Linked DNA regions of Homo sapiens: regions 2, 3, 4, 5, 6 and 7 are each linked to region 1. The links are contacts of gene promoters, found by promoter capture Hi-C in blood cells and fetal thymus (Javierre and others, 2016). All regions are on one chromosome and are shown on one strand. The core of a region is centred on a gene start or on the middle of the fragment in contact, and the rest is flanking DNA. Distances in the headings are between cores, read along the strand shown.

The links. The method cuts DNA at HindIII sites, captures the fragments that hold promoters and counts their contacts. A CHiCAGO score of 5 or more calls a contact.
Region 2: a contact is called between the fragment with the promoter of RICTOR here and the fragment with the promoter of TTC33 in region 1, in 7 of 17 cell types (total CD8 T cells, total B cells, fetal thymus and 4 more). The highest score is 10.3, in total CD8 T cells.
Region 3: a fragment that was not itself captured here is called in contact with the fragment with the promoter of TTC33 in region 1 in 1 of 17 cell types (fetal thymus); the score reaches 5.0 in fetal thymus.
Region 4: a contact is called between a fragment that was not itself captured here and the fragment with the promoter of TTC33 in region 1, in 2 of 17 cell types (monocytes and naive CD8 T cells). The highest score is 7.3, in monocytes.
Region 5: a fragment that was not itself captured here is called in contact with the fragment with the promoter of TTC33 in region 1 in 1 of 17 cell types (monocytes); the score reaches 6.2 in monocytes.
Region 6: a contact is called between a fragment that was not itself captured here and the fragment with the promoter of TTC33 in region 1, in 3 of 17 cell types (monocytes, M2 macrophages and total B cells). The highest score is 10.2, in monocytes.
Region 7: a fragment that was not itself captured here is called in contact with the fragment with the promoter of TTC33 in region 1 in 10 of 17 cell types (monocytes, M0 macrophages, neutrophils and 7 more); the score reaches 16.4 in monocytes.

What each region holds. Positions count from the first base shown.
Region 1 is chr5:40,754,237-40,757,428 of GRCh38, forward strand. It overlaps TTC33 (tetratricopeptide repeat domain 33), which reads right to left and starts at 1,725. Exons shown (of 5, transcript NM_012382.3): 1 at 1,588-1,725. RefSeq lists an enhancer at 1,599-1,748. The HindIII fragment of the contact is 9,414 bases long and covers 518-3,192 here.
Region 2 is chr5:39,072,818-39,076,009 of GRCh38, forward strand. RICTOR (RPTOR independent companion of MTOR complex 2) reads right to left here and starts at 1,582. Exons shown (of 38, transcript NM_152756.5): 1 at 1,512-1,582; 2 at 1,294-1,341. The coding sequence starts at 1,560. RefSeq lists enhancers at 415-941, 1,468-1,994 and a silencer at 880-1,779. The HindIII fragment of the contact is 5,742 bases long and covers 1-3,192 here.
Region 3 is chr5:39,164,705-39,167,896 of GRCh38, forward strand. The region is part of intron 2 of FYB1 (FYN binding protein 1); the gene reads right to left. Among named protein-coding and RNA genes, the nearest start is that of FYB1, 53 kb to the right of the region's middle. The HindIII fragment of the contact is 1,567 bases long and covers 954-2,520 here.
Region 4 is chr5:39,209,732-39,212,923 of GRCh38, forward strand. All of the region lies in intron 1 of FYB1 (FYN binding protein 1), which reads right to left. Among named protein-coding and RNA genes, the nearest start is that of FYB1, 8.2 kb to the right of the region's middle. The HindIII fragment of the contact is 1,397 bases long and covers 740-2,136 here.
Region 5 is chr5:39,370,563-39,373,754 of GRCh38, forward strand. It overlaps DAB2 (DAB adaptor protein 2), which reads right to left. Exons shown (of 15, transcript NM_001343.4): 15 at 1,115-2,863. Among named protein-coding and RNA genes, the nearest start is that of C9, 7.7 kb to the left of the region's middle. The HindIII fragment of the contact is 7,648 bases long and covers 1-3,192 here.
Region 6 is chr5:39,565,357-39,568,548 of GRCh38, forward strand. No RefSeq gene overlaps it. Among named protein-coding and RNA genes, the nearest start is that of LINC02104, 47 kb to the left of the region's middle. The HindIII fragment of the contact is 354 bases long and covers 1,408-1,761 here.
Region 7 is chr5:39,582,750-39,585,941 of GRCh38, forward strand. No RefSeq gene overlaps it. Among named protein-coding and RNA genes, the nearest start is that of LINC02104, 64 kb to the left of the region's middle. The HindIII fragment of the contact is 2,841 bases long and covers 223-3,063 here.

The DNA of each region.
Region 1 (3,192 bases), core at 475-2,974:
GGTTATGAGGGTGTGGGAGGCCTGATGCCACTAGCAATCGACAAGTTTAACCTGAAAGAGGGAGACAAAAATACAGTCCTCTCAGACAAAAAAAGGAGTTAATATTGAGTGAAACATACAGGCAAGTTCAGGGATGGAGGGAAAGGAAAATGAGGAATTTCATGCCCCAAGCTTCACATTTCTCCAGCAAACAGCGGCTAGTCATCTGCTCAAAGTAAAAGGAAAATAACAGATCTGAGTTCTTGAGAAAAAGGGAAAAGACTAAAATAGTCACTGTGGAGATAAGGAAAAGCAACAAAGGAAAAATAGAGATACCAAACAGTAGTATCAAGGGCCCACTACTGTGTAAAAGCATGAATCTGTTATCAAGGCCATTAGCAAAGTTTTATATTTTCTTCAAAAGTGTCTGGAAACCACAGAGTACAGTCAATTTCATACACGATATGTGCTACAAGAGAGTAAACAAAGGATGCCATGACATCAGAGAAGAGACACTTGAGGCTTTCTGGAGGACTTAAGCTTTGAAGAAAACTTAGCCAGGCTTAAAAAGGTATGTGAATCCTAGAGCATGCAAAGCACTTTCTGCATTAGAAAATTTAACATTCCCAGTTGTTTCAGATATCTTAAGCCGAACGAGTTTATTGTTCCTCTATGACTATCTGAACATGAAATTAAAACTTCTTATGAAGGAGGCTTTCCTGAGTCTAGTTAGAAGCACGAGGCTTCAACATCCTAGACTTAACATTTTTTTACCAGAGTAAGAAACCATGAGAGTAAACCACAATCCACACCGGTTTCATGTTAAACTCATGAAACCAGACAAATTCAACCTTTTATATAGGATTATATTTCAGGAATGGCATAACGATTCTAAACAACGACGCTGTATTCTAAATTCCTGTACTGTTACAAAGATCCCTATAGTAGGCGCTCAACAACTGGCGACGGCTTCACATTTACCCAGCCGCCAGAGAGGGCTTGTCTTGAGTGTGTCTGAGGATGCAGCACCCAAAGGGAAAAACCACTACATGAACAAGATCAGGAAATCACAACAGCATCCTTCTGGGTAAAAGGAGGTATTCAGAGGTGAGGAATCCAAGAAACGATTTACCCAAAAACGCCACCGCAAGAGAAAAACCAGTATTAGTGACTTTCCCTTCATCGGTCAACAATAATAAAAACGCTCAGAAAGGCTGCCCCGGACGTCACCTGCGCGTTCACGGACCGCCCCGGGCCGCAGACACCTCTCCAGCGGGGAGCGGCCGGCTCGTCCCGCCCGTCCCACCGCTCAGGGAAGGTTGCGGCCGCGCAGCTCCGCGAAGGTGCCACGGCGGGCCCGACCCTCAGACTCGCTTGTCCCTGGAGACCAACCCTAGCGACCAGGCTCTGCCGGATCCCGTCGGGTTTCAACTCCTATTCCGAAGGTCCTTTCTCCCCTAATCACAACACCCACTCGCCTCTTTTTCCTCCTCTTCCTCAGCTTCCACCGCCGACCGGGCAGCCCCAGTTACCCGATAACGGCTCCCAAGGCCCCGTGTTTACATTCTTTCCCACTGGAAGCAGAAATTATCACGCCCAAATTCCTACCTGCCTTCCCTGGATTCCTGGTTTCCTAAGAAACGGGTTTGGCCCACCCCTGGGCGTTCGAACAGTCCACAGAAGCGGGCAAAGGAAAGACGACTCAGTCTTTCCCCTCCGCCAATCTCTTCTCCGGGACCACAAATCCCAGAAGTCACCGCGGCCGCCCCCACTGCATGACCTTCTGGGATTTGTAGTAGTCAGGGCCACGCGGCTGGGCGCGCCCTCTAGCAGCAGCCCTGAGTGACCGCAGCGCACGAGCGCGGGAAAATGAGGCTGCGCGGGCTGAAGAGCGCACCGAGAGGAGCCGCCCCCGCGGTACCGCGCAGCCTCGCGTCCCGTCAGTGGGGAACAAGGTGAGGGGAAAACTTATTTTACGGGATTCAAAGGATTAGGATATGCTCCTTCCCCGAAGGGGTTTATAGCCTAGCTGATGAGGTCGGCCAGACGCAGAGAACAGAGAGGCAAAATTCGGTTATAAAGGGCTCGAGGCGGCCGGGCGGGGAGGCTAGTCAGGGAGGCTCGAGGCTGAACTGCAGGCTTCACGTTAAAGTTACAAGTGAGTTGGACCCAGAAGGCAGAATTACAGCCAGAACGTAGCTGTGCATCATGTCTTGAAAATAAACGAGCACATGTAATAAAGGTAATCAAGATTGTTAATTTCTCCAACTCTCCTGCCCAAAAGACTCATTTTTGGAAGTCATACTTTCTCAGCCTCAGCACCATTAACATTTCAAACTGGATAATGCTTTGTTGGGGGACGGGGTGTTCTGTGCATTGTAGGGTGCTTAGCAGCATCTCTGGTCTCTGTCCACGGGATGTCACCACCAGTCGATTGTGACAGCCAATGGTTTCCCCAGTGAAATTTCCCCTGGAAGAAAAACTATCCCTCCCACCCTGCCCCGTTGAGAACCACTGATGTCGACCAACGATTGTCCTGAGGGTCAATGACACCCTTTCAAAGCCAAAATTATTTTCATACTAATATGAAGACGTGATTTGCCCTTTGCACAATGCTGACATTTGCACTGATGGTGGAAAAGCAATGGTAGGTCAAGGTGCTGGCCCCTCCACAGGAATTACAGTAATGACACCAAACCGTACTGGAGCTCTTCACCACCACACGCTCACAGTAAGAAAAATGGGCCGGGCGCGGTGGTTCACGCCTGTAATCTTAGCACTTTGGGAGGTCAGGAGTTCGAGACCAGCCTGGCCAACATGGCGAAACCCCATCTCTACCAAAAATACAAAAATTAGCCAGGCCTGGCGGCACGCACCTGAATCCCAACTACTCGGGAGGCTGGGGTGGGAGGATCCCTTGAGCCTGGGAGGTCGAGGCTGCAGTGAGCCGAGGTCATGCCACTGCATTCCAGCCTGGATGACAGAGCAAGGCACGGTCTCAAAAAAAAAAAAAAAAATGGAAAAATGAACGCTGTCACCAGAGAATATCCCTGATGAAGTTGTAAAAGTTACTTTATTATAACCACTCCGACACTTAATATTCTTTGTAAAAACTTGGAAGTCCTCACAAAGTACTTCTGCTGCATATTGAAGTATGACGTATCAAAGAAGAGCTACTGTGAGATGGCATTATAAACTGAAGTAAATACTTTT
Region 2 (3,192 bases), core at 332-2,831, 1.7 Mb before region 1:
TGTATTATATTTTAGAAACTGTCTTGTAAAAGGACCTAGTTCACCCAAAACTAAGTCCCTGAACTTTCAGAATAAAATATTAAGTTATAAAAATGTACTCTTGTAGCTAAGTGAAAGCTGACCATTCAGTTTATAAAACAGTAATCTTACATCGTGATAAGCAAAATAAAACAAATTAGAAAATGCACTATGCTTTCACTCTAGCCGTTGTCAACAAGGAGCCCAGCTTTAACAAATTACTGTAGATAACAGTCATTACGTCAGGTACGACATAGGGTAAAAAACTGATCTCATACAGAATGTCTACAACAAGTTTTTTTGTTTACTTCCTAAGGTGTTTTATAGACCTCAGAAACTGATTCTGTACAGCTGAACCGGGTTACACTCCAAGCTACAGCCCGTGTGAAATATGACTTCGTCGGAATCAGTAGGCTCAATCCTGTTTACCGTGGAAGAGAAAAGAATCTTGTACGTAACTACTAAATCTTCAACGAGATAATGTCGAATAAACTCTAGTACTGTAAGTGATAGAGGAAACACTGGCTAGTAACGGGATTAGGTCATTAAAAATATCACCCGAGTTTCCCCAGTTCGGAAGGTGTAAACAAACCCATCTCCACTGCAGAAGGTAAACAATGAACCTGCAGCAGGGTGAGGGGGCGGTCTTTAGCCAACTACAGTCCCAGCGGCCCGGGAAAGGGAAGCAGAAGGGAAACAGCATAAACCAGACATTTAGCAGTAATGACCAGTTCTAGGTTTCACTACCAAGTTATCAATGCTGCGGGTCCCCACAGGACGGTGGGCAAAGGGGAAAGCAGTCACGCAGTCGGCAAGCACCGAGCAGGTCCGGCTTCTGCTCCGGGGACGGGGAGGGCAGGATGTGGTCGCTCTTCCCTCAAACATCCTCCTGCAACCTAAATAACAGCCTCTACCTCCCTCCAGCTGCCCCTAGCTTGGGCTGCCGGACTCCGGGATAGGTGCAAACCACTCTGCCGGAGCTCGAGCCCAGAGGGTCGCCGGGTCTGCCGAGTTCCACTCGGGGCTCCCCCGCACCCGCAGCAGCCCGAGGCCCGGAGAAGGGCTCGGGCGAGGGAAGCGGGCGCTGGGTAGGGGGATGGGTCCGGCGAGGCGGCCCCGGGCTCGGTTCCCGCGGGCCGGCAGGCGGGGCTCCGGCTCTGGCCCCCGCACCCCGCCGGTCCCGTGCGGGGCCCGCCCCTGCCTCTGGCCCCCAGCCCCGGACCCGGCTCCTCCCCAGCAGCGCGCCCTCGCGGCGCCCGCGGCGCCCCGCGTTACCTCGGGTCAGATCCAGCGGGACGTTCTCCTCGCCGCTGTCATTCCGCCCTGCGCGAAACAGACACACAGCCCCAATTAGGATTGGCTCGCAGGCCAGCTGCGGCTGCCCTGGCTCCGGCCAGCGCCCCGGCTCGCTCCCCAACCCAGGGCCAGGGGAAGGCAAGTGCCAGGGGTGGCGGGCGCCGGGCGGTGGGGAGTGAGGGTTGCAGCGGGCTTACCTCGTACTCGGAGGTTCTTCAGAGAGCGGCCGCGGCCGATCGCCGCCATATTGACGGGTTTCAGTCACAACACCGGAAACCTCGCCCAATCGCGCGAGAACCCCTTCCCCTCCCCGCGCGCCGCGCCCGCCCCCCGCGGCACCTCCCCCGCCCCCTCGGCGGCGACGGCGGCGGGTGGTGCAGGCTCGGCCCCAGCGCTGAGGGAGCACTGAGCCGACCCAAGGTCTGCAAGGAGTTCGCGGCACCCGCCCGCCCACGCCGGACCCGGAGGGCACGTCCGCCGGGAGGGGCAGTTCCCACGAGGAAAGTCCCATTGATGCGAGTTGGCAGTGTAGAGGATGCTCCCCTCCGGCCGCCGCGGAAGCCGTCGTCCAAATGCAGGCGAGCGGGGAGGAGGAGGCCGGGATGCGGCCGGCGGGCCACCTGCTCTCGCCGGCCTGCCAGTCTCCTGCTTGCTCTGAAGCCCTGCCATAGACGGCCCCGCTCCCCCGTGTATCCACTGAAACATTTTTTTATAAAAACGCTGCGCACAGTTTTAGACTCCTTTCCTGGAATCGCTTTGCTCCAACTAAGTTAACACGTAACAAAGTTTGTTTTCCAGCCTCGCCCTTGATCTTCAGAATGCCCCTCTCGGCTAGGAGGGCTTCTCCAAGTGGAAGTGGTTAGGCAGTTTTGTTTTTGGCCGCCAGGCGTAGGACGCGAGAAGGGGGTGCAGCGGCCGGGGACCAGGGCGGCGGTCCCCGCGGTGGGATCGCGCCAGCGCCGGGAGGCCGGGGAGAGGGTGTTCTCTGCCGGGAGCCGAGGCGAGGCTGCTGGGTACTGTGTCCGGCTTTTATGGCTCTGCAGCTCCTAGGATCGTGGCTCATGCAGGTGTTGTGGATTAATCTATTTTATGCATAAGCCTATTAACATTAGGGATTTTAATTCTAGAAACTGCTTAGTTAATACGTATGTGTACACACACACACACACACACACACACACACACACACACACACACACACACACACACACACACACACACCTGGCCACTGACCCAGCAGCTTTCTCTTGAACTACATTTACTTTAAAGAGAGGAGCGATTTGTCCTCTCCAGTTCCTCAGCTCATCTTTCTATTCCATGAGACTGAAAGTTAATTAAAAGTGGAGATCTAGCCTTAACCAGTTCTGTTTTCCCAGCTCCCAGTTAATGCAATATCTGGCACAAATAAGTATTCAATAAATATCTGTTGGATGAGTAAGTGCCCTGGATTTCTAATTTATTCCAATTCTCTGCTTACTTTAAAAAAGAAAAAAAAAGCAATATTGGGGATATTTGTTGAAGTTGTTAATAAGAGTGAACATTTGGAAACACTTAAATGACCAAAGGTAGGGATTATGTAAATTATGTCAACGATTAAAAGTGAAGAGGTAGACTTAGTAATAGGAAATAATGTTCATGATATTAAATCAAGCAAAATATTACAAATTTCCTGTTTTATAATAAAAGTTTAAATATGTACGAAATTAAAAATATACATTATAAAATATTTTATATGTACATGTATGTTGAAAAAAGTCTGAAAATATACATGAAAATGTTAGCTGATTTTCTCCCCTCATTTGTGGAATTACACGTGCACTTTTTTGTTCTTGTTTGCTTGTCTCTACTTTTTAAATATCCTATAGTTAATATATGTCA
Region 3 (3,192 bases), core at 487-2,986, 1.6 Mb before region 1:
ATGACTGGCCTGTGCTACATTAATTTATGACATACACCCTTTTTAAGTAAAGAAAGAGAAAGCCTCGCAAAGAAATTTTAATAAAGGAAATTGCCTGACCAGTGTGGTTCATCCAGGAAGCAAGCTTTTCCTTGCTAAAACTATGAAGTTTTGAAAGGGACAAATTAGACCATTAGACCAGGCAAAGAATTGTAATGCACTGGAGAAAGAACTAGAATTGCCAACAAAGAAGGCAGAGCTTCCCTGTAGTGCCTGGACAGAGCAAGTGTTCTTAGCGTGACTCAAAGGGAGATAAAGTGACTATGACTCAGTAAACCTGTAAGAAGCACAACTACATATACAGACATGTGACAAGAGAAGGTACTCAGTTAAGTTAAATATTTGCTACTTTTGCTATGGCAATGACTATTGTTGCCATTGCTTACAAAAAATAATCATAAAATTCATATGGAAGCAAAAAGAGCCCTGAGTAGACAAAGCAATCCTAAACAAAAAGAACAAAGCTGGAGCCATCACATTACCTGTCTTCAAATTATACGACAAGGCTATAGCAACCAAAACGGCATGGCACTGGTATAAAAATAGACACATAGGTCAATGGAATGGAATAGAGAGCCCAGAAAGAAAGCCACATACCCACAGCCAACTGATCTTTGACAAAGTCGACAAAAATGTACACTGGGGAAATGATACTCTATTCAATAAATGGTGCTGGGAAAATTTGACTGCCATATGCATAAGAATGAAACTGGGCTCCTATCTCTCACCATACACAAGAAATTAATGCAAGATGGAGTAAAGATTTAAATGTAAGATCTGAAGCTATAAAAATACTAAAAGAAAACCTAGGAAAAACTTATGGTCATTAGCCTAGGCAAAAATTCATGGCTAAGACTTCAAAAGCAAATACAACAAAACCAAAAATAGACAAATGGGATTTAACTAAACTAGAAAGCTTCTGTCAGTAAAAGAAATAATCAACTGAATAAGCAGACAATCTGCAGATTGGGAGAAAACATTTGCAAGCTATGCATCCAACAAAGGACTCATATCCAGAATCTACAATCAACTCACAACCCCCAAAATAATTTCATTAAAAAGTGGGCAAAGGACATTGAACAGATATTTTTCAAAAGAAGACACACATGTGGCCAACAAGAATATGAAAAAGTGCTCCACATCACTAATCACCAGAGAATTGCAAATTAAAACCGCAATGAGATATCATCGTACAGCAGTCAGGATGGCTATTATTAAAAAATAAAATAATAAGAGATGTGGGCAAGGATGTCGAGTAAAGGGAATGCTTATACACCGTTGGTGGGAATGTATATAAATTAGTACAGCTTCTAGAGAAAACAGTATGGAAATTTCTCAAACAACTAAAAATGGAATTACTGTAAGATTCAGCAATCCTACTACTGGATATTCAACCAAAAGAAAAGAAATCGGCCAGGAGCAGTGGCTCATGCCTCTAATCCCAGCACTTTGGGAGGCTGAGGCAAGCAGATCACCTGAGGTCAGGAGTTCAAGACCAGCCTGACCAACATGGTGAAACCCCTTCTGTCCTAAAAATACAAAATTATCCGGGCCTGGTGGCAGGTGCCTGTAATCTCAGCTACTCGGGAGGCTGAGGCAGGAGAATAGCTTGAACCCAGGAGGTGGAGGTTGTGGTGAGCCAAGATTGTGCCGTTGTACTCCAGTCTGGGCAACAAGGTGAAACTCCGTCTCATAAAAAAAAAAAAAAAGAAATAAAGATATCATTTTACCAAAAAGACACCTGCACTTGTATGTTTATCACAGTACTATTCACAATAGCAAAGTCATAGAATCAACCTAAGTGTCCATCAATGGATGAAACTTATAAAATGGATGACACTGATAAAGAAAATGTGGTATACGTGGAATACTACTCAGCCATAAAAAAATAAAATTATGTCTTCTGCAGTAACATGGATGGAGGTAGAGGACATTATCTTAAATGAAATAATTGAGAAACAGAAAGTCAAAAAGCACCTGTTCTCACTTGTAAGTGGGAGTTAAATTAAATATAGACGCGGACATAGAGTGTGAAATAATAGACCCTGGAGACTGGGAAGGGTGGGAGGGTTGGCAAGAGTGAGGGATTGGAAATTAATTAATGGGTACAATGTACACTATTCTGGTGATGGTTATAATAAAAGCCCAGACTTCATTACTACACACGGTATCCATGAAAAAAAACCCCTGCACTTTATCCCTTAAATTTATATAAATAAAAAAAGAAAGGAGGGACCCTGAGTCAAAATATAGCACATAAACATAAGATGATAAATCAGGTTTTAGAGGAGAGAAAGATATATAAAGTTGGTGCAAAGGTAATTGCGGTTTTTGCCATTACTTTTGGTAAAAGCTGCAATTAACTTTGCACCAACCTAAAAGAAGAAAAGACACAGAAGGAAAAAAATATAAAAGCCACAAAGAAGTAGTGGGGCACAGTGGAGAGAGCGAGCGTTTTGAAATGAGATGATGCGGGGATCAAGCTTCTACTAGAGGTGTGATCTTGGGTAGTTCTCTCTCTCTCTCTGTCTCTCTCTCTCTCTCCCTTGTTTTTGTTTTTGTTTTAAGTTATTTTTTATTACACAAATAATACATGACTCATTTCTGGAAGAAGCTTTACAACACAGATAAAGTAGAGTTTCAGATGACCTCTCACTCCTCCTTGCCCTCTCTTTCCCAGAAACTACCATTGTTTATCTTTGCAGAACTTTTTCTAAGTGTTTACTGACCTTTGTATGTATGCACAGGAATATCTGATTAAAAACCTAAATTGCTCTGCATGCTGAATATTGTGCTGCCTATTCTGGGCCTATCTTGTTCTTTGTAAATGTTCCAGAGTATTCTGTGTTAGGGATAGTCCAGGTTTGTTCAGTCTTCCCCCTTGACTAAAAACAATGTAATGTTAAGCATCTACTTGTGCTTTTCTGTGTAACTGCAGGGCAGTGGTGGGGGGAAGTGTTCTAGGACAGAGATCTAAAAGTAGAATTGCTGAGATGAAAGATTTGCATATTTTATTTTCCTGTAGGATCTGCCAATTGTCCTCCAGTGAGGCTTCAGCAATGTGCCTCAATGAAGTCTTGTCTCCTCATACCCTCTCCGTCACTGGACGTTTGTAATCACTTTTTAATTTCATTAGCACAATCACTTAATCCT
Region 4 (3,192 bases), core at 188-2,687, 1.5 Mb before region 1:
TCCCTCCCCGGCAAACAAGCAGACACATCCCTGATCCTGGCGCATCTCTTTCCATAATATGCATTGAACGTACTGGCTGATGGACTGCGTTTACTTAAATTTCACCTTGATTGGTCATACAGATGGGAGTGGAGGAGATGATTTTCTTAGCTCCTTTGTTGACCTGCAGTTGTGATTTAAGCACTTGCCAATTGAATATCTATTTCATTGCAAATGGGCTGTGATGCATTCCAGTGGGCTGAGCCTCGGAGGCTGGAGAGAGCACCAGGCCCCTCTTCAACAGGATGTGGGAACTTGACTCTCGCCGCAAATTAAGTTCTTGGGGCGGGAGCCCTTTGCTGCAGGCTCTGGGCGAAGGCATGGGTAGGAGGACCTGGTGGCGGAAGCAGCGGTGGTAGCCCTGATTGTGACAACCCCTGTATGTTTTTCAGTAACTTGTGAAGGTGGAGGTGGAACTGCAACAACCCCAGCGATGCCCTGTCTGCTATGGCCTTGCATTGTGAGGTGTCATGTGGAAGGAAACACCTGACTTAAATGGGGACTTTCTGGGTGGTGTGTGTGCCCCGCCAGGTCCCCTCGGACCTTGGCAGAAAAACCACCACAGATATCGCTGTGCATTATCTCCTGGTCTGGTGTTATTCCGAGCACTGATGATCCGGATCCTTCTCCTGTTTCTACTGTGTTCTCTCTTCCAGAGTGAATTAGAGCAGAAGAAGCAAGATAGCCTAGCAAGTAGTAAAGCTTTGATGGTGATGGTCCACCTCCCAAATGCTGGCGCCTTGTATTCTCTATAAGGCATGTGCATCAGTTGGATTTTTGTGTACCCCCTGTTTTTAGAATCAGGAGCGGGACAATCATCATCATTCTACAAATTCGAACCTTCAATGTTCTTTTCCTGGTTATCCTACAAAATAGCTCCTGTACAAATAGTTTTGACTTTGCCATGGCCTCTGAGGGCTTAAGCATAAATGGATAAGGAAGTTAAATACGACTTTCTAGCCAGGCATGATAGTGCATTCCTGTGGTCCTAGCTACTCAGGAGGCTGATGTGGGAAGACCGCTTGAGCCCAAGGGTTTGAGTTCATCCTAAGCAACGTGGCGAGAGCCTGTCTCTAGTATAAATACATACATATAAATATATATGAGTTTCTATGTGTTTCTGAGGTTTGTTTTGCTATATGTTTTTGAGTTCTTGATGTGGATAGAATGGCGATAGGATGTAGAGAATATAGAGTGAGATGTAGATAGTACAGAACAACAAATGGTCCTAAAACCACTTATTTTTCTTATTCTATTTTACAATTTTTTATAGCAAATTTAACTTACATTTGTTTAGGATAATTCACTCAGCCTGCATGACCTGAAAATACCAAATTAGAAAACAGTTTTTCAGGAATTTACATTTTGACTAACGAACTTGTAGATAATTGAAAAATGTTTTCATAGATATCTTATTAGTGGCTTATTTGGTTCTTAGGCTAATAGTTGATGTACACTTCATAATACAATATAAGTTCTTTCATTTTTTCTGTTCCTCCAACCTCAAAGAGAGACCTAAATTTCAGCTACTATTTCTTTTTCTTTTCTTTTCTTTTTTTTTTTTTTTTGAGACGGAGTCTCGCTCTGTCGCCCAGGCTGCAGTGCAGTGGCGCGATCTCGGCCCACTGCAAGCTCCGCCTCCCAGGTTCACGCCATTCTCCTGCCTCAGCCTCTCCGAGTAGCTGGAACTACAGGCGCCCGCCACCACGCCTGGCTAATTTTTTGTATTTTTAGCAGAGACAGGGTTTCACCGTGGTTTAGATCTCCTGACCTCTTGATCCGCCTGCCTCGGCCTCCCAAAGTGCTGGGATTATAAGCGTGAGCCACTGCGCCCGGCCTATTTCTTATGGTTGTTCTATTTTCATGTACACCCCAACAAAAACTTTATTTTGCTAAGGACATTTGAAGTCTGAAATAAAAATCTTTGATGTCTGGGAAAGATACTGTTTGTCAAGCGAAAAATAGAAATGTTATGCTTTATTTTTTCCCTCAGCCTTCGTGTCACTCCCAACAAACACGAAAACATAGACAGACACAGACACACGCTCCTGGGTGGTAAATTTCTTTTCTACACTCAACATGATGTTAGAAACTGAAAGCTTATTGTCTACATGGAGTGAAGTGGGGGTGGAGGAATGAGGCTATCTGTGGGGTTTTCTAGAGACTTCCTTCCCAGCATGTGAAAAGATCTGTGTGAAAACTGCTAAGAAGAGGAAGAACTCAACGAGCTAACCAAGACAGGTGGCAGCAGCTGGGCACAATGGGTGGCTCAGGCCTGTAATCCCAGCAATTGGAGAAGCTGAGGCAGGAGGATTGCTTGAGGCCAGGTGATTGAGGCTAGCCTGGGCAACAAAGCAAGACCTCATTTCTACAAAAGAATATGCAATATTAGCCAGGCACAGTGGTGAGTGCCTGTAGTCCTAGCTACTCTGGAGGCTGGGGTGGGATGATTGCTTGAGCCCGGGAGGTCAAGGCTGCAGTGAGCCATGAATGCACCACTGTACTCTAGCCTGGGTGACAGAGCAAGACCTTGTCTCAAAAAAATAAAAAATAAAAAATAAAAAAAGGCATGTGGCAGCTTCTAGTCAATGAGAGATCCAGAGTTCGATTTGAGGAAAGTGAAAGCTATACATTAGAAATGGAAAGCTATGGAAGATTCCACAAAGAGAAATAGATAATATTTTGAAACCTTACTCTAAGGAATATGACAATGTGGGATATCCTCCCTGCCCTCAACCCTCCCCCTTGTTCCCATTCCATTTCTTCTCCTTTAGAGCTTTGAAGAAAACGCATTTGGTATTTAGTAATCAGGATTAAACAATATAAGCACATCACACCTCTTAGCTCACTTTTTCTGATAACTGCACAGAAACAAGACTCTGTCATAAGATGAGCATCTTTTCTCACCTTTGTTATAATGGTGCTCTTCACTTTGGGTTGCGCTTTTTCTCATTAAAATTGTGATGTTTTCAATTTCAAGTTTTCCATGGTGTTCACCCTGCTCTTAGCACTCAGCCACTCTCTTTTCCCAGGCACGCTTCTCTTTCCAAAGCACTTCATGGCTTCAGCTGCTCTGGGCTCTCACTTGTCCATTCATTCATGGATTCATTCATTTTCTTCTGAGTGTTCTAGAGACTCCTTGCTTATGTGCTA
Region 5 (3,192 bases), core at 505-3,004, 1.4 Mb before region 1:
TATTTTCCATCTGTGGCTGGTTGAATCTGCAGATGCGAAATCTGAGGTTAGGAGAGCCAACTGTATAAGGAACAGGTGTGTTTCCACTTTGCAGGGACACTTCAGTAACTGCCACTCTCTGCTTGATCAACAGTAGTTCCGACTGCACTGAAAGGAATGTCCGCCTCTTGTACACACGAGCAAGTTAACCTGTGGCAAGATCTCACAGATTAAGTCACGTGGAGATAACACACAGGCTCAACGGGTTAGACGCACGGCAGAGCACCTGGATAAGCCAGATAATTTGTGCAACATATTCTTATCAGCAGCCTTCTCTAGCTCATCTGTGGCTTACTTTCAATTCCCCTGGAACCTGCTTTTGTATGGAGTGTATTTCTATTCCACCTCACTATTGTTAGAAAGAGACCAAATGTTTCAGTCAAGGAGAAAGGTAAGGCAGTAATAAGGAACATTCCAAAATATTATACACCAATAGATAATCCTACCCCAAAATGTCTTATTCCTTAGAAAAGTTAGGTTTAATACCAAGACTTCTATATCCATGCAAAGCCCACCTTGGGATTCTCTTTCTTGTAGTTGCAGGTCTTTTTGCAGTGAATGAGAACCTTGAACTTTTATACTAGGTGAGACAGTTTAAGAGCGCCCTAATGCTAAAAACATCTGTTCATCAGCCCACTCACCTCATGCAACAGCTCTCCAGAGGGGCCTGTGCCAGCCTAGAGCAGTCCACACAGTCGTGTCTTGGTGAGGTCAAATATGACTGAGTAAAAAACAAGAGGCAGCCAAGGGTAAAAGGCATGAACCAATAGTGCACTAATGAGTGATTTTATAGTGGATGTCAGCTGAGGTTGTTCTGGTACAGGTCTTATCTACTAGTCTTCCTTACACTCCCGGAAAGGGAGTGTGTGTGGGTTTGAGACAGAAGAAGGTGTGAAATAGATCAGACGGTAATTTACTCACGGTCCTATTTCATGGATTTCCACTTTCTCTTCACTGTTGTGACAATCCAGAATCTATTATAGCTAACATTTTCTCCACTTCAGACTGGTATGTTTTATAGCTTGCCTCTAATGTCAACTCAAAGCAGGTAGAATAAACCGATGGTACCACATGATATTCTGCCACTCCAGTTTATTGAAATGAGTAAATTTATAGCTTTATTTGCATACAGAAAAGTGCATGAGAAAATAAGTATGTACAAAACAGTTGTGTGGCTGATCATGACTTTCAAAAATTCAACTACCTAGAAATAGTTACCTCCAGTTTAGCACATTTAGGTATTTGGACATTTAAAGTACTATTTCAAGTCTGTGTTTATAGTGACTGAGTAGGAAGCTGATAGAAAATTATGCCATATATGATCAACTATTACCATTAAACATAAAACCACAGGACTTTCTACTTGGGGCTAATCAATAGAGGGTCATGTGGCCCCTGTCTTGTTTAGCTTCTGAGCATCACCCTCTTCTTCCCCCTCAAGGTAACATTGGATGTGGCTGATTAACTCCCACAAGAACCTGAGCATTAAGGGTCAAGAGACAACATTAAAAACCCAACATAAACAAAACAAAACAAAACTTATTTTGACAATAATAAACCCTTCAGAACTGTGCTCACAACAGGACTGAAAATGAACTGGGAACGTTTCCAAGTTGTGAGGAGAAAAATATTGCAGACATTAGATTTTCAATGGTAACCCCAAACATTTGTTCTACAGCTTTTTCTCCCCTCTTATCTTCCTACTAACGACATTGAGATTGTGGCTGCAAGAAAAGTTTTCCAGTTACTTGATAAAGGCCTAGCATGACCCCAAATAAGCACCTAATGTGTTTGGCACAATCACATTTAGCTTTGTGATATGTTGCTCTTCAAAATAGAGTCCTTTGTTGCTGAGTTGAGTTCAATTTCTCTTGAACATTAACTGCTCTTCTGGAACTTCAGCTCAAGAGAGTGGCCTCCTCTTCCACAGGAAGGATATAGGTTGTGCCCATTTGCAATTCTAGTTCTTGGGACTAGCAATTACTGAGAATGAAGAGAGGCTCCAGATCTGTCTGTGAATCATTAGATTTTTTTTTTTTTTTGCCCTGTGAGAGTCTGTTGCTTGTGAAAGGGTGGTAATACTACTTGAACCCAGGAGCAAAACTGACTGAAAAAAGAATCAGAAAAAAAAGGGGAGGAGAGATGAATAATGTTCTTCCCTCATTTGCAATAGCTAGCAAGAAATGGGAGAAAAGGACAATCTTGGCCTTGGGAGAAATTGATCTTCAGAAAGAAGAGAAGCTATCTCTTTAAAAAGGTCCTTAAGTGGTTAGATTCCAAAGTGTCTAAGGAGAAGTTGTAGTTGCTTCAATTTTACTTTAGAAATTCTCTGTAACTGATGGTCTGAAGCAAGATTTCTTTTAAGAAGGTGCCTTGTTCTACTATAACCTTTAGGTTTTATGCTCTGAAACAGAACCCCCAAACAACTCTGAACAATAAGGATTTGAAAATTTATTCAAAACAGTATGATATGAAGGGATGTGGTGGCTGCATCTCCCAACCAGAGGGTAGAAGGCAGGTGTTCTAGAAGGTTCCAGGGACACAAGAGGCAGGGTTCAGTAGGGAAACTACTGTACTTCATTTACACTTAAGCTAGAGAGTTTAGGATCTTAATTTATTTAAAGCCATAGATTCAGTTTAGCTTTAACCTAGACAGAAAGTGAAAAGCATTTTACAAGTAGAAGAGGCAATGAGAAATAAGGCAACAGATAATACGTCAAAGCTGGAACAAGGGCAGAAATCAGAACGTGTCTGGCTATCAGCTTTGTTTTTGACTACTAAGGCCAACCTTTTTATTCCTCTGGATGGTCTGCAGACCAAGTTCCTAGAGAGGTATGGAGAAGAAAGAAACTTGTGGTTAGAATTTTTGAACTGAATATCAATGTATTAAATATCAAGTCATTATTAAAGATGTCAGTAATAGTATCTCCTAGGGCTGATGTGAGGATTGATGAAGATGATAAATGTAGAGCATCTAATAAAATGCTTAGCGCAAGTGCTCAACAATGTTAGTTATTTTATCCCATGAGAGTTCCCCTTACCCAATCTATTGATGTAGCAGGTTGACCTAAACTATCCTTCCTTCATGACCTAAAGAAGGAAGGACCTCCAAAGAGAAGTCTAGTTCATTCAATTTAGTCCATACAATCCATC
Region 6 (3,192 bases), core at 335-2,834, 1.2 Mb before region 1:
GATGTACAGCTGAATCCTTTCAATGGGGCCCTGTCTTGGGATGGACTTTCCTCAGGTGATGTGGCTGACGGCTGCTTGAAGAGTGCCTCATTTCTGGAGATACCTACCCCTATTGTTCCAGCTGTGTCTTGGAAACCCTTTAGTAGTATTTTAGGTGGGAGAGTCCAACACATAGTTGTATATGTGAGTGTGGTTAACAAGAGGAAAATGGACCATCACCATTGCTCTCCCCGTCTTCTTCCTCCTCTTTTCTTCCTTTCACCTGGCCCAAGTGCCTGCAAGTCATAGACTACCTCCACCCCTTCTGTGTACCACCAGTAATCCTCTAGGTACTTACAGGGGTATAAATAACTCACTTTGGATACAATGGGTCAAAGCAATGGTCCTGATGACAATACCAAAAAATGTATAGAAGGATCTGATCACTGTGATGTCATCTGTCATCACAGGTGAGTTACATTGGACTCCCACTCAACTTTTGGTGAGTTTATGAAGTTATGTTCATATGCAAAAACATAATAACCCATTTTATGTCAAACTAGATACATACCCCTGTAGCTGCTTGAGTTTATTAATCTTAATTCTTTTCAAACTATTTAATATGTTAGCATGTACCATATCAAGAAAATATATTCTGCAAGTTTACTCCCATCTGTTGTGGAAAGTAAAAATTTGCCAGAAACTTACATATATTTATAACAATGTATGCTCACCTAGTTCTAATAATCAAGGGTTTGGCAATGAAAATTGGTTTGTATTTAAACTCACTAATTCATAAAGCAAGTACCGGATGATGTGTTGTATGTTCTCTTAGCCAGAGCAGCTGGCTATGTTTATGTAGGTAGTGCCTCTCCAAAGGTGGCTGAACAAGGGCGCAATGAAAGGCTGAAGTCCATCCCAAGTCTCCTGGCTGAGCCCTCTCTCTGGAACACGGCTATGTCTGTCTGGAGGAAGGCACACATTTTCTTTTTTAAAAAATGTACTTATTTTTATTTTTATTTTTTTGTGCAGATAGACAAATTTGACTGAATATTCTTTTTTTATTTTTTGTTTTACTTTAAGTTCTGGGATACATGTGCAGAATGTGCAGGCTTGTTACGTAGATATGCATGTGCTGTGGTGGTTTGCTGCACCTATCAATCTGTCATCTAGGTTTTAAGCCCACATGTATTAGGTATTTGTCCTAATGCTCTCCCTCCCTTTGCCCCCCACTCCCCGACAGGCCCCGGTATGTGTAGAAAACAAAACACCACATTTTCTCACTCATAAGTGGGAGATGAACAATAAGAACACATTTTCTTCTTACAAACACACTACCAATTTGCCAGGTCATATTCCCAAGAGGCTAAGATGCCTTTTTTTTTTTTTTCCTTATTTATTCTCCTATGCCCAGGCTTGTTATGTGCAAGCTTCAGGCCCTTATTTTTCTGGGTTTGAGTCAAATCTTTATTTCATGGCCCAATATGGAAACTTCTTTATACTCTGGGTCAGAGTAATTGCCTTTAGTTGAATATTTGTCAGCTTTCTTTTTCCTGATTTGAATTTACCAGAATTCCATGCAGTATTCTAGGCATAATGTACCCATTGTGATTATAATTTTCTAATGATTTTCAGGATTTCTATTTCTTTTAGGTTATGCCAGCCTTTTGGGATATTCTTGATGAAGCTATTGGAAAGAAATGTTTTCTATTTTGAAATTGCTTAGCTGGTGAAGTTTAAGTCTAGAGCTGCTGGCAGCCATCCTAGCCACTCTTGAGGATAAGCTTCCTGAGTATCTAGCCAGTACTGAGGAAGGAAGAGGAAGGAAGGAAGAAAAGAAAGAAGAGGAGGGAGGAGAATGAAAGATTTGATATATTTAATCCAATCCAGGACCTGGCTTTAGCCATTTCTGAACTTCCTTTTACAAAAGCCAAAAAAGTTCCTTTTTTATTTAAGATAGTTTGAAGTAGACTTCTATTTTTTGCCTGATACTGTCCAGTCAAATATAGTATGAAATTTATGATGTCCATTTCTAATCTGCTAGAAGTGAGGAGGGTGGAGTTATGAGCAAGTGTCTGCTTTGGTTAGGCTGTGTTAAGTACATTATATGTTATTATTATTTAAGCCTTAAAACAACTCTGTCGATCAGGTATTGCTAATGCACAGGATAAAATTTAAAACATTAACAGTATTTCCCTTAAATTTGTAGGAGTAAAGTTTAAAAATTAAGTCAATATATATGTGTATATATGTCTGTGTATGTATATATACCTGTATATATACATACATATCTATATATATGTATGCATGTATATATAGATACACATATATATCTATATGTACATGTACATTTATTAGTGTGAAACAAACAGTACTGACCTGTTAGTGGTAAAGAGACTTCAGCTCCCTATTTACAATCAGTGCAAAGGTTTCCAAGGTTATCAACTTACTTGTATCAAAGAAGTCAACACTTGATTGAAACCATGAATTGTGCAGATAAATACTGAGAAATGTGTTTTGATTGCACCACAGACAAGTAGCTTGAAAAAGGAGACAACTGAGATGCTCTAAATTACTTGAAATAAGGTAGAGGAAGGAATGTAGCAATAGCAAATTAAGTAGAAAACATTCTCTTCTATGTTTAGTACCTCGGAGGGAAATGTGTGGGCTGTTACAGGTAACTTGCTCTTTTCACTTAATGCCCTCTGCCTGCATGAGTTCCTCTGAGATGGCCCTAACTGCTTTATGTTAAAATTAAGGGGAGTGACTCTCTTGTGGAAAATAATATAGTGGATTTCTGTTTTCAGTTTCTTAGCCTTGCTACAGCAACCTATGCCACCACCACCAGCACTCACACATCACAAGCCTAGAATCTTTCAGTTAGTTGGTGTCATCCATAGGATAAAACCTCCAAACCTCTGAGAATACATCACACTGAAGCCCCATGTGATCAGATCTAAATCTTGCCTAATTGGCCAGCTTTATTTCCTTGCCTATGGCTTACATTCCAACTAAACCATTCTGCTGCCAGTTACACAAACACTTCATGCTATTCAGTGCTGCTGGCCTTTGCACACGCTGCTCCTTCTGCCTGGACCCTCTTCTCTAGTCCTATGTGTCTGACACACATCTCATTCATTTTCTTGCAGGTATGTCCTTGACGAGGTACCTAAATTACCTTGAACAGAGTTAATCATCTTGTCCTCTGTGCTA
Region 7 (3,192 bases), core at 393-2,892, 1.2 Mb before region 1:
ATAATTTTGGATTCTTTGTACCTTGTAGCCGGAAACATTCTAACTGAGGCAGCAATTTAAAAAGGTTTCTCACATTATCTCCTTGGATTCTGCTAACAATTTTTTATTTTAGTCCACAGAAGACATTGAGACTCAAAATGTCTGAATGATATGACTGACGTGACACAACTCTTAGGTAGCAGACTTAACACTGAAATCATAATTTTGATGACCACTGCCATAAGCTTTTTAATGCACTTTTAATTTGTACAAGTCAGGACTAGGAAAGGGTGGCTGAAACGAGGGATGCTGCAATTTTGTGGAAATTTCCTTTGTTCCTCAGGCAGATTCTCCAAAATATTTATGTCTATTGAAGCCTGAACTGCTCCTAACACCTGTCAGAACTCAGAGCGCCCAGACCTCAAGATTTGTAAGGAAGTTCTTCTTCACATTTGTTCTTCTTCTTCCTTGCTTCCCCGATTCTTTCTGAAAGCGTGGTCTGTTCTTATTTCTAATAAAATGCACCTGTTCAGAGTTACTTGAGCGCTTAAACGTACCACAACCTCTCAGGAGAACACCTGCCCGTTCTCTCTCTGGTCTGTCTTAATAGGGCATGGCAAAATGTGATTCTCATTTCCACCTACATTTTCGTAGGATGGGGGTTAGCCTATTTACTTCACACTGGCTCAGACTTAGACCTCCTTAGAATCCATGGGTTCTGCCAGACTCATTCCCACGCTGTTTAGACTTCAGGAATGCCTACCATTAAAGCCCTGCCCCTCCGCCACCTCATAAACGATTACTGGGAGCAAATATGATTATTATTTCTTTTTTTTTAATTGTTACTTTTTTTATTATACTTTAAGTTCTAGGGTACATGTGCACAATGTGCAGGTTTGTTACATATGTATACTTTGTATCAACATGGATTCCTCAGGAAATGAAGCATGACAAGAACTTACAAGCTAGTGCTTTCATGAGGATGGGGGTGCAGTCTCAGGAAACCTAGAGTCAAAGACAGCAGATACATTACAGAACTGGCCATAGCTTTCCAATATACATGGCTGGTTGCTTATCTTGCAGAACATCTTTAGGAAAGTTGTACAGAACTCCTGTGCATCAGAATTGTCTATAGAGGAAGAAAAATGGTGAAACCACTTATCTGCTGGATTTTTCCTCATCTCAGGTCGTGCATGACTCCAAGTTCACTGGCTAAGGGAATGGCTTTCTTGCAGTTTCAGGTTGTATTCTGCTTGCCAGGAAGCCTTGAGGGGAACCAAAGGCTAAATGGATCCTGTAAGGCCAGAGCACGGTTGAACTTTCTCATCCTGGCAGTTGCTGCCACACATGAGATCTATGGGGGTGGCTCTGCTGGAGTTTGATACCTGTCTCTGGGGCTACTCTTGCTGGCTAGAAATCAAAGCAAGTGGTCAAGTGTCAGCGTGGGGGTGTTATGAGCCAAGTTCATTGGATATGAGTGATGCATAAACTGGGTTTAAATCCAATCTTTGTTCTAAACAGGCTGAAAATAGTTCTCTTCTTTTTAATTTTTTTAAAACAGTTGTTATACCTCAAAGATTTCTTTTGTCTTCATTTTGAAGGAGCTGAATCTCCCTCAGGGGTTGGTATCCTCATTCCTGCTTCACCAGGCTTCAGAGCCACAGGTAAATGGACCAGTGCTTATTTTCATGGATGAATAAATTCAGTAATTCCTATTATCCTAAGCATATACAAATTATAAAATCCTATTTTGTATTTTTACTGTGCAGAACATTCTTTCACTGCAGGTGAATGGATTATTTTTAAGAATTTTTTATCTTCTTGCTGTTGGTTAACTTGTGTTCCTACAACCATTACATTTGATTAGAGCGAAATACAAATCTCAAATGTGTTTTGTCTTGCACAATACGTTTTGTTGAATAGGCTGAATTTTTAATTTTCTCCATTGCTTTCATAAAACACAAGTAAACTGATGAGTTTAAATTATATAAATCCAACAAGGATATAAAGCACTAGATTAGTTCAAGGGGAAGGAGATGAGGTTGAAGAAGATACAATTCAGATTATAAAAAAATTATTTTAGTTCTGGGACAGACTTTTGAATTACATTGTTTCTTCTTAGCTAAATTTTCCTATGTTTGTGGAAACTTTTGATAAAAGATTTGCCTTCTTTCAGTGATAAGCCAACTTCCACCAATGGAATTTCTTCTCTGTAAAAAAATCTCTCAGCAATATATCTGGAAACTCATGTCTGAAAGGGCAGATCTGAAGACATAAAGCTGATATAATTCCTGATGTCAGCTTCAAATAATTGAGCTGCATTCCTGCTAGTGCTTGTCACCGACAAATACAATTTATCCAATGATTCTTAGTGAAAAGGATAACATTTGCTGTAAGAAGTCCAGGAATCCCACTCACTATGGCAGGGGCAAGGCTTGTTGTGTCACATTCCCATTTTAACTGCATATTGCATTTTGTTAACCAGGCCCTGCATCTCATGACGTTTGTGATGGAACTAAGGCATTTCAGCTACTCCCATAGCCACAGCCCTGGAGTGATTTATGATTTTGGTGAAGTGCTCTGAGTTTTGGTGAACACTGTTAGAATAAAATATCTTCGGAAGAAGAGTGGCTGCTAGGGGAAAAAGTCAACTAGGAATGACCTCCTAGGTCTAATAATAATCATTTTGGAATACTAGAAAGAGCATGGTGTTAGGATTTTGAAACATTTAAATTTTATTCCTCTCTTCATCGTTCAGTAGACCTTTGTACTAGAATGTGACTTCAAAATTTTCTGAACCTCAGTTTTCTTCTCTGCAAAAATGGAAAAGCTGATAGTAACCTCAAAGGGCTATTGGGAAGATGAAATGAGAAGATGTATGGAACTAGCAGTCTCACTGCCTCACATATAGTAGGCGCCCAATAAGAGCTTCTCTTTCCTCCTTCACCCAAATCATCATCCCTTCAACATTCTTACAGACCAGGTATCTGTAGACTGCTGGTTGGTTTATGTGACAGTTATTTCTGATCTCCTATCTGAATGCCTTCTGCTCTCCATGCTGGTAAAGCTACATATTGCTTTTCAAGCTTCCCTTGCATCTGGCGATGGAGGACATATTAGGTTGTTGCAAAAGTAATTGTGTTTGTTGCCATTAAAAGTAATAGCAAAATTACTTTTAATGGCAAAAACTGCCATTACTTTTGCACCAACCTA